3 separate regions of the Homo sapiens genome follow, and regions 1 and 3 are each linked to region 2. Evidence: promoter capture Hi-C in 16 types of primary human blood cells and fetal thymus (Javierre and others, 2016). All regions are on one chromosome and are shown on one strand. Each heading gives the region's core, a stretch centred on a gene start or on the middle of the fragment in contact. The rest is flanking DNA. Distances are from core to core; before and after follow the strand shown. Region 1 has its middle 27 kb from the start of UTP14A. Region 2 holds the start of ZDHHC9 (zDHHC palmitoyltransferase 9). Region 3 overlaps SASH3 (SAM and SH3 domain containing 3).

What was found. Contacts are between HindIII fragments. The CHiCAGO score rates a contact against its expected background, and 5 or more counts as called.
Region 1: a contact is called between a fragment that was not itself captured here and the fragment with the promoter of ZDHHC9 in region 2, in 5 of 17 cell types (M0 macrophages, M2 macrophages, M1 macrophages and 2 more). The highest score is 6.4, in M0 macrophages.
Region 3: a contact is called between a fragment that was not itself captured here and the fragment with the promoter of ZDHHC9 in region 2, in 2 of 17 cell types (non-activated CD4 T cells and neutrophils). The highest score is 5.6, in non-activated CD4 T cells.

What each region holds. Positions count from the first base shown.
Region 1 is chrX:129,876,400-129,881,295 of GRCh38, reverse strand. It overlaps the pseudogene SALL4P2. Among named protein-coding and RNA genes, the nearest start is that of UTP14A, 27 kb to the left of the region's middle. The HindIII fragment of the contact is 3,137 bases long and covers 1,019-4,155 here.
Region 2 is chrX:129,842,097-129,846,720 of GRCh38, reverse strand. ZDHHC9 (zDHHC palmitoyltransferase 9) reads left to right here and starts at 2,835. Exons shown (of 11, transcript NM_016032.4): 1 at 2,835-3,025; 2 at 3,395-3,462. The HindIII fragment of the contact is 4,624 bases long and covers 2,053-4,624 here.
Region 3 is chrX:129,788,770-129,793,627 of GRCh38, reverse strand. SASH3 (SAM and SH3 domain containing 3) reads right to left here. Exons shown (of 8, transcript NM_018990.4): 4 at 2,547-2,688; 5 at 1,152-1,300; 6 at 792-1,001; 7 at 489-639. Among named protein-coding and RNA genes, the nearest start is that of SASH3, 11 kb to the right of the region's middle. The HindIII fragment of the contact is 1,276 bases long and covers 1,438-2,713 here.

The DNA.
Region 1 (4,896 bases), core at 1,338-3,837, 35 kb before region 2:
TTATTACATATACAAAAGGGGATTTGAAAAAAGGAATCACGAAAACATCTTACATGTCCAGCTGTTCCCACCAATACATCAACTCTTATGAAGCAGGAGAATAGGGTCTGGAGGCAGGGAACCCAAGTCCGGTTCATGCTGACTTCCTAGAACTAAATTGAAAGGGAAACCCCAACTTTCCACACCTAAATAACAAAAGGACCAGAGACTATTCCCTCTGCAAACCTCCACCTTTTCTGCCTGGCAGATGGGAAATTGAAAGTACCTCTGACCGGTTGCAAAAACCAATCACAGGTTTGCATAAGAGTGTAATTTTGTAACTTCGAAATTGGTTGCAGACAGCAACAAATCAGAGTGATTGTGGGCCACCACTTCATTTACATGAGGTGAACACCAAGTGGCCAATGGGAATGGGAAACCTCTAGGGGGTATTTGGACCCAAGAAGATTCTGTATCTGGGCCCTTGAGCCGCTGCTCAGGTCCGCTCCCACACTGTGGAGTATACTTCCATTTTCAATAAATCTGCTTTTGTTGCTTCATTCTTTCCTTGCTTTGTCTGTTTTGTCCAATACGACAAGAACCTGGACACCCTCCACCAGTAACACTTAGGTTTAAGACAGCAGCCAGGCATGGTGGCTTACACCTGTAAACCCAGCACTTTGGGAGGACAAGGCCAGTGGATCACCTGAGGTCAGGAGTTTGAAACCAGCCTGGCCAACATAGAGAAACCCCATCTGTACTAAAAATACAAAAAATTAGCCGGGCATGGTGGCACATGCCTGTAGTCTCAGCTACTTGGGAGGCTGAGGCAGGAGAATCCCTTGAACCTGGGAAGCGGAGGTTGCAGTGAGCTGAGATTGTGCCACTGTACTCCAGCCTGGGTGACAGAGTGAGACTCCGTCTCAAAAACAAACAAACAAACAAACAAAAAGACAGGGCCTGGGAATACTTCAGTGGTCATAAAATAGGAAAATAGACACTATGGCTACAAAAAAAGTGAAATATTTAAACTAAAGCTTTCATACCCAGGATTTGCCTGTTCCAACTTTGTAGCCTTCATGCAATACTCAGGGCAAAAAATCTGCATAATTACTTGGCATAAGTTGCACCAACTATATTTTTTAAAAATTAGTATGTGACCCTGTGAAAGGAAACACTCCTTCCCATGAGTTTCTCCTCTGGAATGAAAATCCAGTTCTTCAACAGAGTGGGCACTGGTGAACTAAATTAAGTCACCTGAGATTCCTTGCTCAGTGGCCCACCTCTTCTGGTGTTCAGGAAGGCAAAGGGAAGTGTGTGGAATACATTTGAACTCTTGTGGCTGCAACTGAGCTGTTTTTTAAATAAGCAGACATTGACTCCCTAACAACTAACATAAGTCCATTTGAGGACATCCTATTTAAAGTTCTAAAGTTAAAGGAGTCCAGACACAGTGGCTCACCCCTGTAATCCAGCACTTTGGGAGGCTGAGGTGGGGCAAATCACTTGAGTCCAGGAGTTTGAGACCAGCCTGGCCAACATGGTGAAACTGAAACCCCGTCTCTACTAAAAATACAAAAATTAGCTGGGTGTGGTGGTGGGTACCTGTAATCCCAGCTACTTGGGAGGCTGAGGCAGGAGAATCCCTTGACCCCCAGAGGTGGAAGTTGCAGTGAGCCGAGATTGCGCCCTTGCACTCCAGCCTCCTGGGTGACAGCGAGACTCCATCTAGAAAACAAAAAAAGTTGGAGGAATTAGGCCAGGTGCGGTGGCTCACGCCTGTAATCCCAGCACTTTGGGAGGCCGAGGCAGGTGGATCACGAGGTCAGGAGATCGAGACCATCTTGGCTAACACGGTGAAACCCCCTCTCTACTAAAAAAATACAAAAAAATTAGCCGGGCGCCTGTGGTCCCAGCTACTGGGGAGGCTGAGGCAGGAGAATGGCGTGAACCTGGGAGGCGGAGCTTGCAGTGAGCTGAGATAGCGCCACTGCACTCCCGCCTGGGTGAAAAGAGCGAGACTCCGTCTTAAAAAAAAAAAAATGTTGGAGGAATTTGTAATTCTATAATCTTTTTTTTTGCTTTATTTTTGAAAGTACTTTCAAAAAACAAAAGATGGGTACAGGGTTAGGAGACATACAAAACAGGTTCCTAAATAGATGATAACCTTGTCCATTTACTTGCAGACAGTTATCATGGAAGTATACAGTACTCCTCCTCACCCCATTAATCTAAGTAGTTGTCTTTTCCACTGTGGTTCAATAAGTTCAAACTGTTCCACCTTGAAATAGGCGACAGTCTTGGGAAGTAGTTACTGTAGGCTGTACAGAATTTCTATGTATATAGTTTGTTGGAAGTAACAAAGCTACTTTCAAGACTTGCTTCTTTCCAAAATTAAAAAATAATTATAGTCTGTATTTGTTTTGGTATAGATATTTTCTTTTTTTGATTTTTTTGTTTTTATGTTTTGCAAAGCAGCATAACAATTGTGATTGTAGAACTGCCTGAGATTGCCATCTGTAAACATCATTTGCATATCAGTAAGAATAAGGAAAACGGGAGGAGGAGATGGGTTTTTTTTTTAAAAAAAAGAAAACAAATAATCCCATTAAAAAGTGGGCAAAGGACATGAATAGACATTTCTCAAAAGAAGACAAGTGGCCAACGGACATGAAAAAATGCTCAACATCGCTAATCATCAGAGATGTGCAAATTAAAACCACAATGATAAACCATCTTACACTAGTCAGATGGCTATTATTAAAAAGAGAAAAACTAACAGATGTTAGTGAGGATGGGGAGAAAAGGGAATGAACTCTTATACACTGTTGGTGGGAATGTAAATTAGTGTAACCTCTATGGAAAACTGTATGGAGATTTCTCAAAGAACGAAAAATGCAACTACTTTCCATCCAGCAATCCCACTACCGGGTATCTACCCAAAGAAAAATAAATCATTATATCAAAAAGACACCTGCAATAGTATGTTTATCACAGCACTATTCACAATAGCGAAGATAAGGAATCAACCTAAGTGTCCATCAACGGAGGATTAGATAAAGAAACTGTGGTATGTATACATCATGGAATACTATGCAGCCATAAAAAAATGCAATCATGTCTTTTGCAGCAACATGGATGGAACTGGAGGCCATTAACTTTGGTGAAACAAGCCAGGCACAGAAAGACAAATATCACATGTTCTCACTTATAAGTGGGAGCTAAATAAAGTGTACACACGGAGGTAGTGTGTGGAATGATAGACAACAGAGACTTGGAAGGGTAAGGCAAGGGGTGGATAATGAGTGATTACTTAAGGGGTACATTGTAGGTTATTTGGGTGATCAATACCCTAAAAGCCCTGACTTCACCACTACACAATCTATGCAGGTAACAAAATTACACTTGCACCCCATAAATTTATACAAATAAAAAATAATAAAAGAATAAAAAGCACAGTCTAGACTAGGGGTGTCCAATCTTTTGGCTTCCCTGGGCCACCTTGGAAGAAGAATTGTCTTGGGCCACACATAAAATACACGAATACTAACAATAGCCGATGAGCTTAAAAAAAAAATCACAAAAAAATCTCAGAATGTTTTAAGAAACTTCACGAATTTGTGTTGGGCCACATTCAAAGCCGCCCTGGGCTGCATGTGGCCTGCGGGCTGAGGGTTGAACAAGCATGGTCTAGACATTTCACTCTGTCTACATTTCTTCTTCCAGGCAAGTTCCCCTTTAGCTTAGCTGACCACAATCTTGTTTTCTTCCAGGAAGTGAGGGAACCAATGTGTGGGAACAGTCTCAGTAGCACCTGGTTTTTCCACATTGGCACTGATACCTGACTGGGAGCCATCCATCTTGGACTCAGCAGTGTTATTCACAGCAGAGTTGGCCCCCACAGAAACTGGGAGGGTGGGAACACCACCACTCTGGGTCATAGAGATCTCGCTAGTCTTCATGGCAAGACCACTGTTGAGCATGTTGGTATATTGGTTCCACCACCTTCACTGAAGGGGCCAGGATTTCCAGTAAACATTTCTGAGATTCTTTCCATTCATACCTAATTAAGCCATAGTGTTCTCAATGGCTAGCTTCCTTCTCTGGTGTGCTGAGTTATTGTTTGCTCCATGAGTCATACAGTGGACCTTCAAGTTGCCTTTGGTGGTAAAAGCTTGCCCATGTATGCTGCACACAAAAGGCTATTCTCTAGTGTGAGTCCACTTGTGAATCTGAAGAGCACTAGTGGATAAGAAGTTCTTCTCACACTGTGTGCAGCTGTGTTGCTTGGCCTGTCAGTGTGGCTGGGCCGCTAACACCAGGGACATGATTGAGGATCCAACAAATGTGCCAGTGAAAGGGGAGAGTTCCCTGGCCCCCCTCACAGGACGTGTGATGGGTGTGGCTTGTCTGTTTGGTCGCTGCTCAAACCTCTTACAGGAGGGGGAGTACACAGACAGACAGGTGCAGGAGCCCAAGTGGGCGTGTGTTACAGTGCACTCTTTTAGCCTTGCCATCTGCAGATGGCTTAAGTGTTAATCAGCTCAGTGGACCCTCTGCCTTTCTGCAAAGGCAGAGGGCCAGTGTGACAGTTTTCTGTATCCTGAGCTGTTGTCCAGAATCCTGGAAGAATCAGGTCACACATGGACTTGAAGGATGGAGAATGCAGGGTTTTATTGGGTGGTGGAGGTGGCTCTCAGTGGGATAGATGAGGAGCTGGACAGGGGATGGAGTGGGAAGATGATCTTCCCTTGCAGTTTGGCCATCTGGTGGCTGATTCTCTGACCACCCCCAGCAAAACTCCTGACGTTTCTTCTCTTCTCTCCTGTGCCGTGCCATTCTGCCATTTGTCTGCTCATCTCCTCATCTCCTGCTTCTGGAGCCTCGGGTTTGGGGTTTATATGGGTACAGGATGGG
Region 2 (4,624 bases), core at 1,586-4,085:
CTTATAAACTGGAAGGCTATACCTTGATTTTTGTGGTGTTTCTAGTGCTCATCACATGACTATAACCCCTTTTCTTCTCTCTCTTTCTTTCTTTCTTTCTTTCTCTCCCTCTCTCTCTCTCTCTCTCTCTCTTAGATGGAATCTCGCTCTGTCGTCCAGGCTGGAGTGCAGTGGAGCGATCTGGGCTCATTGCAACCTCCGCCTCCCAGATTCAAGTGATTCTCATGCTCAGCCTCCTGAGTAGCTGGGATTACAGGCACCTGCCACCATGCCTGGCTAGAGATAGGGTTTCACCATGTTGGCCAGGCTGGTCTCAAACTCCTGTCCTCAAGTGATCTGCCTGCCTTGGCCTCCCATAGTGCTGGGATTACAGACGTGAGCCACTGTGCCCGGCCTATAACCTCTTTTCAAAAGAGCCAACACTGACTTGGATGTAAAAAGTGGGAAGTCTGTTGAAAAGAGAAGAGAAAAGAATAGGAAAAAACAGTCTCAGTTTATAGTCACAATTTAGTTGTGTGTGTGTATTAAGACTTTAAGGATTATATAAAATGATGTAACTACATAGGAGGAAGTACTATGGGATGTTTGTCCACATAAATTTTCCTTATTTTTCTTTGAGTGTTGAGAATAAATAATAACAGATTGTAATAAAACAAGCCTGACTCACATAGCCACTTAGTCCGAGAGGGAATGTGACCCAGAGCAGGGAGGGACAGAGCTCAGGAATGTGTCACCATGACACATCGATTCCAGGACTCCTCAGGCTTCACCTGCACCTGAGCTATGGACAAAATATGTTTGAGTGCTACAGAGGCTTATTTTTCACTGCTCCATAGTCAGAAGGATGGCAGCTGGGGTGACCATACTATTCCTAAGGGCATCTGATATACATAGGCTTGGAAATCCACAGGGCTGATGAGGTTTAGGGAAGTTCTTCTCCCTCCCATACCAAGTGTGTGCAATACCAGCACCCTCCAGAATTCAAAGCGGGAGAATTGGAGGCAATGATACTGATCGTACACTTCATGAGGAATAAACTGTTGATCATAATCAGCATGAGTGCTAAGGAACAATGGAAGCTTTATAAAGACAAACCTTCCTTTGCAAGTTAATTACAACACATCTCAGAATTACCTAGTGTTTTTTAAATCCTTTAAGAATTTTGAAGGGTGCCATGAAAGTGTCAAATGTAATTATTATGTAGCTTTTTGTTTCATATTGTGTGGGACACATATACTGTAAAGGAAAAATAGTTCTTGACCATGTATGTGGTCCTTCAACTAACATACAACTGCCTTAGGAAGAGCTTTGGCAGTCTCTTCTGTACTAATTCCAAATACCAAATCTCTAAAACTTTGAAATTTTTATCACGCTTAGGAAAACCTAGGCTGGTAATGTAGGCATTCTCCTCCAATCTTCAACCTTTTCTCTTATCTCCTCTTACACTTGGAAAGGAGATGCCACCTTCAACCTTTTCTCATATTTCCTCTTATATTTGGAAGGCAGGAGCCATACTGGTGAAAACAGACCTAGTGTCTTTTAAAGTCACCCTATAGTATAATACTGTGGTTCTCAATTGTTTCCCCCCTTCAATCTCAAACTTTTTTTTTTTTTTTTTTAAGACAGGGTCTCTCTCTGTCGCCCAGGCTGGAGTGCAGTGGCATGATCTTGGCTCACTGCAACCTTCACCTCCTGGGTTCAAGTGATCCTCCTGCCTCAGCCTCCCTGGTAGCTGGGACTACAGGCGAGTCCCACCGCTCCCCGCTAACTTTTGTCTTTCTAGTAGAGACGGGTTTTGCCATGTTGGCCAGGCTGGTCTTGAACTCCTGACCTCAGGTGATCCACCTGCCTCGGCCTCCCAAAGTGCTGGGATTACAGGCGTGAGCCACCGCGCCCAGCCCAATCTCAAACTTTTAATGCATGCAACTCACTCGGATCAGTAGCAGTGGCTCATGGTGGCAGTAATGCAGAGCTGGGTGGCAGAAGGAAAAAATCAATCTGGTTGGTGGGTGGGAATTCTGCCTTGGATTCTCCCCTTAATCATCATAAGCTTTCCAAACCGAATAAAAATTTACAACCTTTTTGGCAATCTTTACTTCATTACCTACCTGGAAGAATTTATGTCCTCAGTGGAGTTTCTTTAACTCCATTAATGTCAATTAGTTGTTTTAGGTGCTGCAAAATGATAATACGTTCTTGGGGACATTTATCCTTTACAACATGCTTTTTATGCTTGTTTGTGTGTTTTGATTTGAAAGACTTAGAGATGCAGGCTAGGGTGACTGGGACAGATATGGGGTCCCTGGCTACTGAATGAGACTTGGGAGGCAGATGACTTGTTTTTATGCCGATAAAGAGTAAAATCTCAAGTTGCGGTTGATTTTAAAATGCAAGCAGGGCTGGAGAGGCCCATGGCAGACCTAGTTTGGGGTGAGCACCCGGATCTGTGAGCTAGTGTTGCTTCAGCATCTCACTGTGTGTGTGTGTGCGCGCGCGTGTGTGTGTGTGCGCGCGCGCGCGCGTGTGTGTAGGCTGGTTCCACCCTTTGCTGTCCCATCGGCACTACCCTTAACCTCCGTCTCTGCGTAACTATATTAATAGAAGGCAACACTTCACATACTGGCGCTCAGACCCCAAAGAGAGGCTGGCAGTGGCTTGGCAGGTGGGCATGCAGCAGGGAGATGGGTGGAGGAGTGGGCGGAGGCATCGTCGAGTGGCGTTAGGCAAAACCAATGGCAGTTCGGGATAGGGGCGGCCGGGGCGGAGGCGCCGAGGCCGATCGGCCAATAGAGGGCGAGCAACTACTGGAGCGACCTGGTGACGTGAGGAGCGTTCCATTTGGCCAGTGGTGGGCGGTTGCCACAGCTGGTTTAGGGCCCCGACCACTGGGGCCCCTTGTCAGGAGGAGACAGCCTCCCGGCCCGGGGAGGACAAGTCGCTGCCACCTTTGGCTGCCGACGTGATTCCCTGGGACGGTCCGTTTCCTGCCGTCAGCTGCCGGCCGAGTTGGGTCTCCGTGGTTCAGGTAACGAGGGGTGGGGGCGGGGGTCTCCTGGGCTCGGCTGCAGGGTGGGCTGCCTCCCCTTCCGCGGCGCCTGGAGGCGGGGACGTCGGCACCGCCCTTCTCAACTCGGCAGCCGCCGAGCCCCTGGCCCGGGGTGACTACACGTGGCGGGGCGTGTGTGAGTGTGTACGAGCGTGTGGCTGCGTGTGCGTGTGGATGTGGCGCGCGTCCCAACCTGCCTGGGGCGGTGGTCCGCGGCGTGGCGGAGTCAGGGCGGGCCTCGAGAGGCCGCGCCCGCGGCTCGGCCCCGGACTCCGGCCTCCGGCCTCCGGCCCCCCGCTGGGGAGCCGGTCGCTGCTTCCCGACGGATTTTGATCTTTGTTCTTCCAGGCCGGCTCCCCCTTCCTGGTCTCCCTTCTCCCGCTGGGCCGGTTTATCGGGAGGAGATTGTCTTCCAGGTTAGTTTTACACAAAGGACGGGTTCTCTGCACCTCTGGGCCCCCCTCCCCTTCCCCGAACCTTCTACCTTCTCGTTTCCCTGCTCCGCTCCTAGGCTGTTTTTGGACCTTTGCCCTCTCCAGCCCGCGAGTTGGCTGTTTCTCCCTCCGTCCGTCGGGCTGCAGGCTTCCGCCTCAGTCCTGCCAGCGTGGGGCATGTGGTGTCGGTAAATAGAGGCCACAACACCACACCTGAGCGGAGGAGAAGGGTAGCAGAGGCTGAGAAACTCTGGGCCTGGGAATTCAGGATGCTGAGTAGAGATGGTACTTAGGACATGTCCCAGAAAGCGCCCTTGTGACTTTTCTTAGCTGCTGCCATTCCCCACCCCCCAACCAGCCATCAGCAGTCACCAACCATTCCAGAATCTCTCCTGCTTAAGTCAGCCTTTCACCTACAGGTCTCTGATGTGGTTTCATTAAGATTCTCACAAATGTTAGGCTAGACCAGCCAGATTGTTTCATTTCCCGGACTCAGGAAGTTGCAGAGGGTTTGATGAGGGGAAATCTGTTTTGTGTAAATACAATGCACGTATGTGCACAGAGCGTCCAGAACCTCCTGGCCCTGCCAGAGGGTGACTTGTTCCCTGCTGTGATTCATATTCGAGTGGCTAATTGAAGAAAGAAGGTGAAGTGGAGGAAGGGAGGGAGGTTTTATAAGGACAGAAACTCTACTATTATTTTTAGAGTCCTTTTAATGATGTTGAAAGAACACTGTGGCATAGTGGAACATGCCCTTGACTGGAAGTTAGCAGTATCAGCATTGCTGCTGTGTGGTCCTGGATAAGTTATTTCCTCTCTCTGGTCCTCAGTTTACTCATTTACAAAACAAAGTATTAATAATTGGCACGATCACCTATAAAATCCTCTCTAGTTCCAAGGTTCTGTGATGATCAGATCATCAGCATTAGATTGGAAGCATAGAGGCTTATTTAAGAAGAAATACTAGCCCCTTTCCTTTTTTGAGAACCTTTTATCATACCTTCTTTTAGAGAACAAACACGAATTGGAAATAAACTTTTCCCACTTCCCCGTCCCCACCCCTTCAGTCAGTTTTCAACTTTCTGTCTCTGGGAAAGGAGGGTTGAACTGTATTTTCTTATTATTGCCTCATTTTTTTTTCTTT
Region 3 (4,858 bases), core at 826-3,325, 52 kb after region 2:
AGAGGGAGACAGAATATGGGGGTGGAGGTAGGGACCTTGGGAAATACACCATAGGCAGTCTCTCCTTCTGGGCACCTGCCACCGCCCTGCCCCTCTCCTCACTGCTTCCAGCTTAGAAGCTGGTAGGAGTTGTTTCCAGGCCAGCTCTGCAGTCCAGGAGCTCACACTTCTTTAGCACTAAGCTGGAGCCAGGCAGTGGGCTTGAATCCTGGCTCTGTTATTACTCAGCTTTGAGGCCTCAAGTAAGGCTTTGCCTTCTTTGGCCTTAAGGGTCCCCTTTGATCCAAAGGAGGTTGGGCCCAATCATCCCTACAACTCCTTTCTCCCGTACACTTTCCCTGAAATTCTAATTCAAGTGGAAAGTACCTTTCCACTGCAGAGCAGTCCTAGGGCAGAGCGTGGACAGAAGGCAAGGCCAGGGCAAGCCTCCCCTCCCTGGAATGCCGGTGGGCACACACCCTCACCAGGCCGCTCCTAAAGCCACTCACTGTCATAGTCCAGCAGCAGCTCGGCGGCCGTGAGCAGCTTGGCCCGGTGCTGTGGATCCATGATGTTCAGCTCATTGAGGTGTGTTTCTCGCAGCTCTTTGAAGTCTTCCAGTGTCTGGTAGCCATTGAGCAGGAGGGTGGATGTGTGCTCCTGTAGGCAGAGGCAGGCCATCGGCACAGCTGCTTACCAGCCACCCCTGCCTAGGTCCTCCCCAACTACGCATAGCTGTCATTTCCTGGTCCCCATCCCTGGGGCAGTTGTGCCTCCCTGATACTAGATACTAGTGAGGACCAAGCTCAAACCTCCAGGCCGATGCGCTCCAGCAGCTCATGCAGGGTCTTAGGCTTGGGCCTCTTGCCCTTGCTCTGTCGGCGGCTGGGGCGGGCATGCCCCACGGCCTCCTCGGGCAGCACATCCACATAGATGAATTTGAAAGAGCCCACCTTGCCATTGAGTAGGCCCAGCCACGTGCCCACAGGTGGCTTTTCAATGATCTGGATCACATCTCCTTTCTGTTGGGGGAGAGGAGAGGAGAAGGGAGCAAGGGAGAGAGGATATGGGGGGCCTTGGCCTCCACTGACACTGTCATAGCCTGGTTCAGTCCAGCTTCCTTTTTGGGCACAGCCTGCCAGGCTCCAGAGAAGCCCGGATGCTGATCTTACCTGCAGTTTCAGCGAGTCGTGGTCATAGGGGCTGGGAGTGAAGTCGGTGTGGACTCGTGCCCGGCCACAGAAAGGCCCTGTGTACTGGGGGGCAGGTGGTTCCTCCCCGAAGCTGCCAGAACCTGGGCTGGGGCTGCAGAGCTCACTGCCTGCAGGAGATGGGGCAGGGAGGAGGCTCACCTTTGTCCTAGAACAGCTGAGACAGTGCCTAGCAGGTGCCTTCCAGGGGACCTGCCTAGAAATCCCAAGGGTATACACCGGGAAGGCAGCTGGGCTCTGGCAAGCTTTACACTGCAGAAGGGATTCTGAACCACCCCCTTGGCTACCGACCAGGAGCACGGCTTCACCTCTGGGCCCTTGGACATGAAAAGAGTTGGCAATGGGAGGAGAAATGGCTCACTGACCAAAGAATGGGCAAATTAGGAGGGCCTCTAGAGAACAACTGGGCCAACACTCCAATGAACAGATGCGGAAATCTGAGGTCACACAGACCAAGTGAACTGCTCAAGGCTTCTCATTTTATAACTGGCAGCACTGAGTCAGTCCATTAGACTCCATGTTCCCTGATACCCACTCCAACGCTCCCTCCACCCAGGAAGCTATGCCCTGCATTCATATTTGACTTTCCCTGCTTAACTCAATGTGTAGTTACAATGTCACATAGAAACTCAGTTGGGCTCCTTCTCCCTGGGAAGTACAGAGTAGTGGGCATTTTGAATGATTTTCAGTCGGGGGCAGGGAAGTGTCTGTGGAGGCAGAGAAAGCAGGAAACTTGGAGTGGACTTGAGGGGCAAGAAAGGCGGTGCTGAATGGGGCTGCAGAACCCAAAGCCCCTGCCTGGACGAGTTCCCTGCTGGCACCTCTTGTCCTGTCCCATGGACTTCTAGAAGATGCCAGGTGATGCCCTGAGCCCAGCAACTATGGTCTAGGGTCAAGAGGCTGACTCTTCACAGCTGGAGACCTCATACGCCCACCCCCGACTGGGGCATCAGAGGCCCAGGGATCTGTAGCCTCTAGCTCCCCTTGGAAAGGTGGGGACGGGCTGGTCCAAGAGGGTGACTGAGACTCTTCCTCTGCCCGTGGGCCTCTCCGGGGCCTGAGGATAGCAAGTGGAAGTTCCTCTACGGTACATCTGAGTTCAAGACTGGGTCATCTTGGGCAAGTCACTTAACCTCCCTAAGACCCTGTTTCCACATCAATAAAGCAAGGATAACAGTACTGGCCCCATGAGGTTGTTGAGAAGATTTAATGTGAAGAGGACTGAGAATGTTCCCAGCAGGCAAAGAGTAAGCATTCATTTCTCTTACCCCCCGCCCAGACAGTGTGCCACCAGCACGGCTGTAACCCAGTCCTTTCCTCCAGATTCGGCAGGTGTCCCCCGCATCCCCTACTCACCTGTTGATGCCTGGCGGCTGAGCACCGGAAGTTCATGCTCCTCTTGCTCAGAAAAGGCCAGCGCCATCTTCTCAGGGCCAGGGCTGTCCAGGCTGTAGTCTGGAGATGTCGGGGAGGCAGAGCCCTCCTCCAGAGTGTCTGCCTGCAGGGAGGGTAGGCGGGAAGCTTTAAGGAGCCTTGCTGGGGTGTGCATGAAGCTGAAGAAATGGGCCTGGGCTTAGTGAAGAGCTAGGGGCTGGCTCAAACCCCAACTCTACCACTTATAGGCTGAATGGCACTCTCTGAGCCCTAGTTTCTTCCCCTTTTGTAAAAATGAGAGTGACAGTCCTTGCCCTGGTTACCTCACAGAAACAGGTTCAACCAGGGCACCATGTGGATGTGCTTTTGTCAGCCTCAAGTGCCGATGTACATACAGAAAAGACCACGGTGGCACAACCTGGACTCAACCATTGCTACCGCACAACTGGGCAGACAATGTCGCTAGAGAGGAAACTACTTTTGCCTGTGTTTCTGTGTGCCAGGCCTGCCTGCCATTTCACTGAATCCTTACAGTGACACTTGAAGGTAAGTGGTATTGTTGGCCTGAGTTTACAAATGAGGAGTAAGGCCCAAGGGTTACTTACTCCTCATCTGTAAACTCAGGCCAAGGGAATTCAGGTTCAAGTCCCAAGGCAACCCACAACCAAGCCAGACTCCAGAGCTCCCCCTACCTCACCACACCTCAGTGAGGTGATAACTGTTTAACAGCTGGCCCTGATGAGTTGCCAATTCCTGTGTTGTAAACACTCCCCTCCACGGCCAATGTCAAGCTACCATTTTGACATCACTGGACGTGTTGTCTGAAATGAGGGTGAGGCTATTGCCACCATGAAGATGCTATGGATGCACGTAACCTCAGCAGCATTGATAAGAGTAAAAGGTAGTACAAGAATTAGGAAGTGATGAGTTTTGAAGATTTACTGTATTACCTTTGTTCGTTTTTACAAAATTTTATTTTTTTAAATTTATTTATTTAGAGACAGAGTCTCCCTATGTTGCCCAGGCTGGACTCTTACTGGGCTCAAGCAATCATCTTGCCTCGTCCTCCTGAGTAGCTGGGATTATAGGTGTACACCACCATGCCCAGTTTACCTTTTTAAAAAAATATAATTAACTGAATTGTAAGTTTCTTTAATTTGATTTTTAATAATGGTTGTGTTTAACAACTGGCTTGCACAATTTTTGACAGTTTGACCAACTGCTCTTGTGAGCTGGTATAAGCCCAGTACGAGCCAACTCCAGCACACCACTGCCTCAGTGGCTCCTTTTAGAGCCATGGCAACCCAAACCCACTGTGTGATTTAAGCTTCTTGGGTCATGCCTGCCCCACAGCTGCCTGTGCCAACTTTCCTCCCTGGGCTGAAGCCAGCCTTCTCTGTTTTCTCTCTTTTTTTTTCTTTTTTTTGAGACGGAGTTTTGCTCTTGTCACCCAGACCAGAGTGCAGTGGTGTGATCTTGGCTCACTGAAACCTCCACCTCCCGGGTTCAAGCAATTCTCCTGCCTTAGCCTCCCGAGTATCTGGGATTACAGGCACCTGCCACCACGCCTGGCTAATTTGTTTTGGTATTTTTAGTAGAGACGGGATTTTGCCATGTTGGCCAGGCTGGTCTCGAACTCCTGACCTCAGGTGATCCACCTGCCTTGGCCTCTCAAAGTGCTGGGATTACAGGTGTGAGCCACTGTGCCCAATCTGTTTTCTCTCATAGGGATTCTATGAGAGAAAATAGGCCTTCCCAATCCCGGGGAAGTTCCAAAGCAAAGCTTTGAGGTGGATGGATTGCCTCAGGCCATTTCATCTTTCTCAAGCTGCCCCTGTCCCAGGCCCGCCTCCTCAAGAAGCATCCCTTGCCCAGACTTTTCTTTTTTTTTTTTTTCTCTTTCTTTCTTTCTTTCTTTCTTTCTTTCTTTCTTTCTTTCTTTCTTTCTTTCTTTTTTTTTTTGAGACAGAGTCTTGCTCTGTTGCCCAGGCTGGAGTGCAGTGGCACGATCTTGGCACACTGTAACCTCTGTCTCCTAAGTTCAAGCAATTCTCCTGCCTCAGTCTCTGAGTAGCTGGAATTACAGGCATGTGCCACCACGCCTGGCTAATTTTTGTATTTTTAGTAGAGATGGGGTTTTGCCATGTTGGCCAGGCTGGTCTCAAACTCCTGACCTCAAGTGATCGGCCCCAGTCTCCCAAAGTGCTGGGATTATAGGCAGGAGCCACCATGTCCAGCCCTGTTGCCCAGACTTTCATCCCTTCTCAAACTCCACCCCTTCCCCCGCCAGCCTC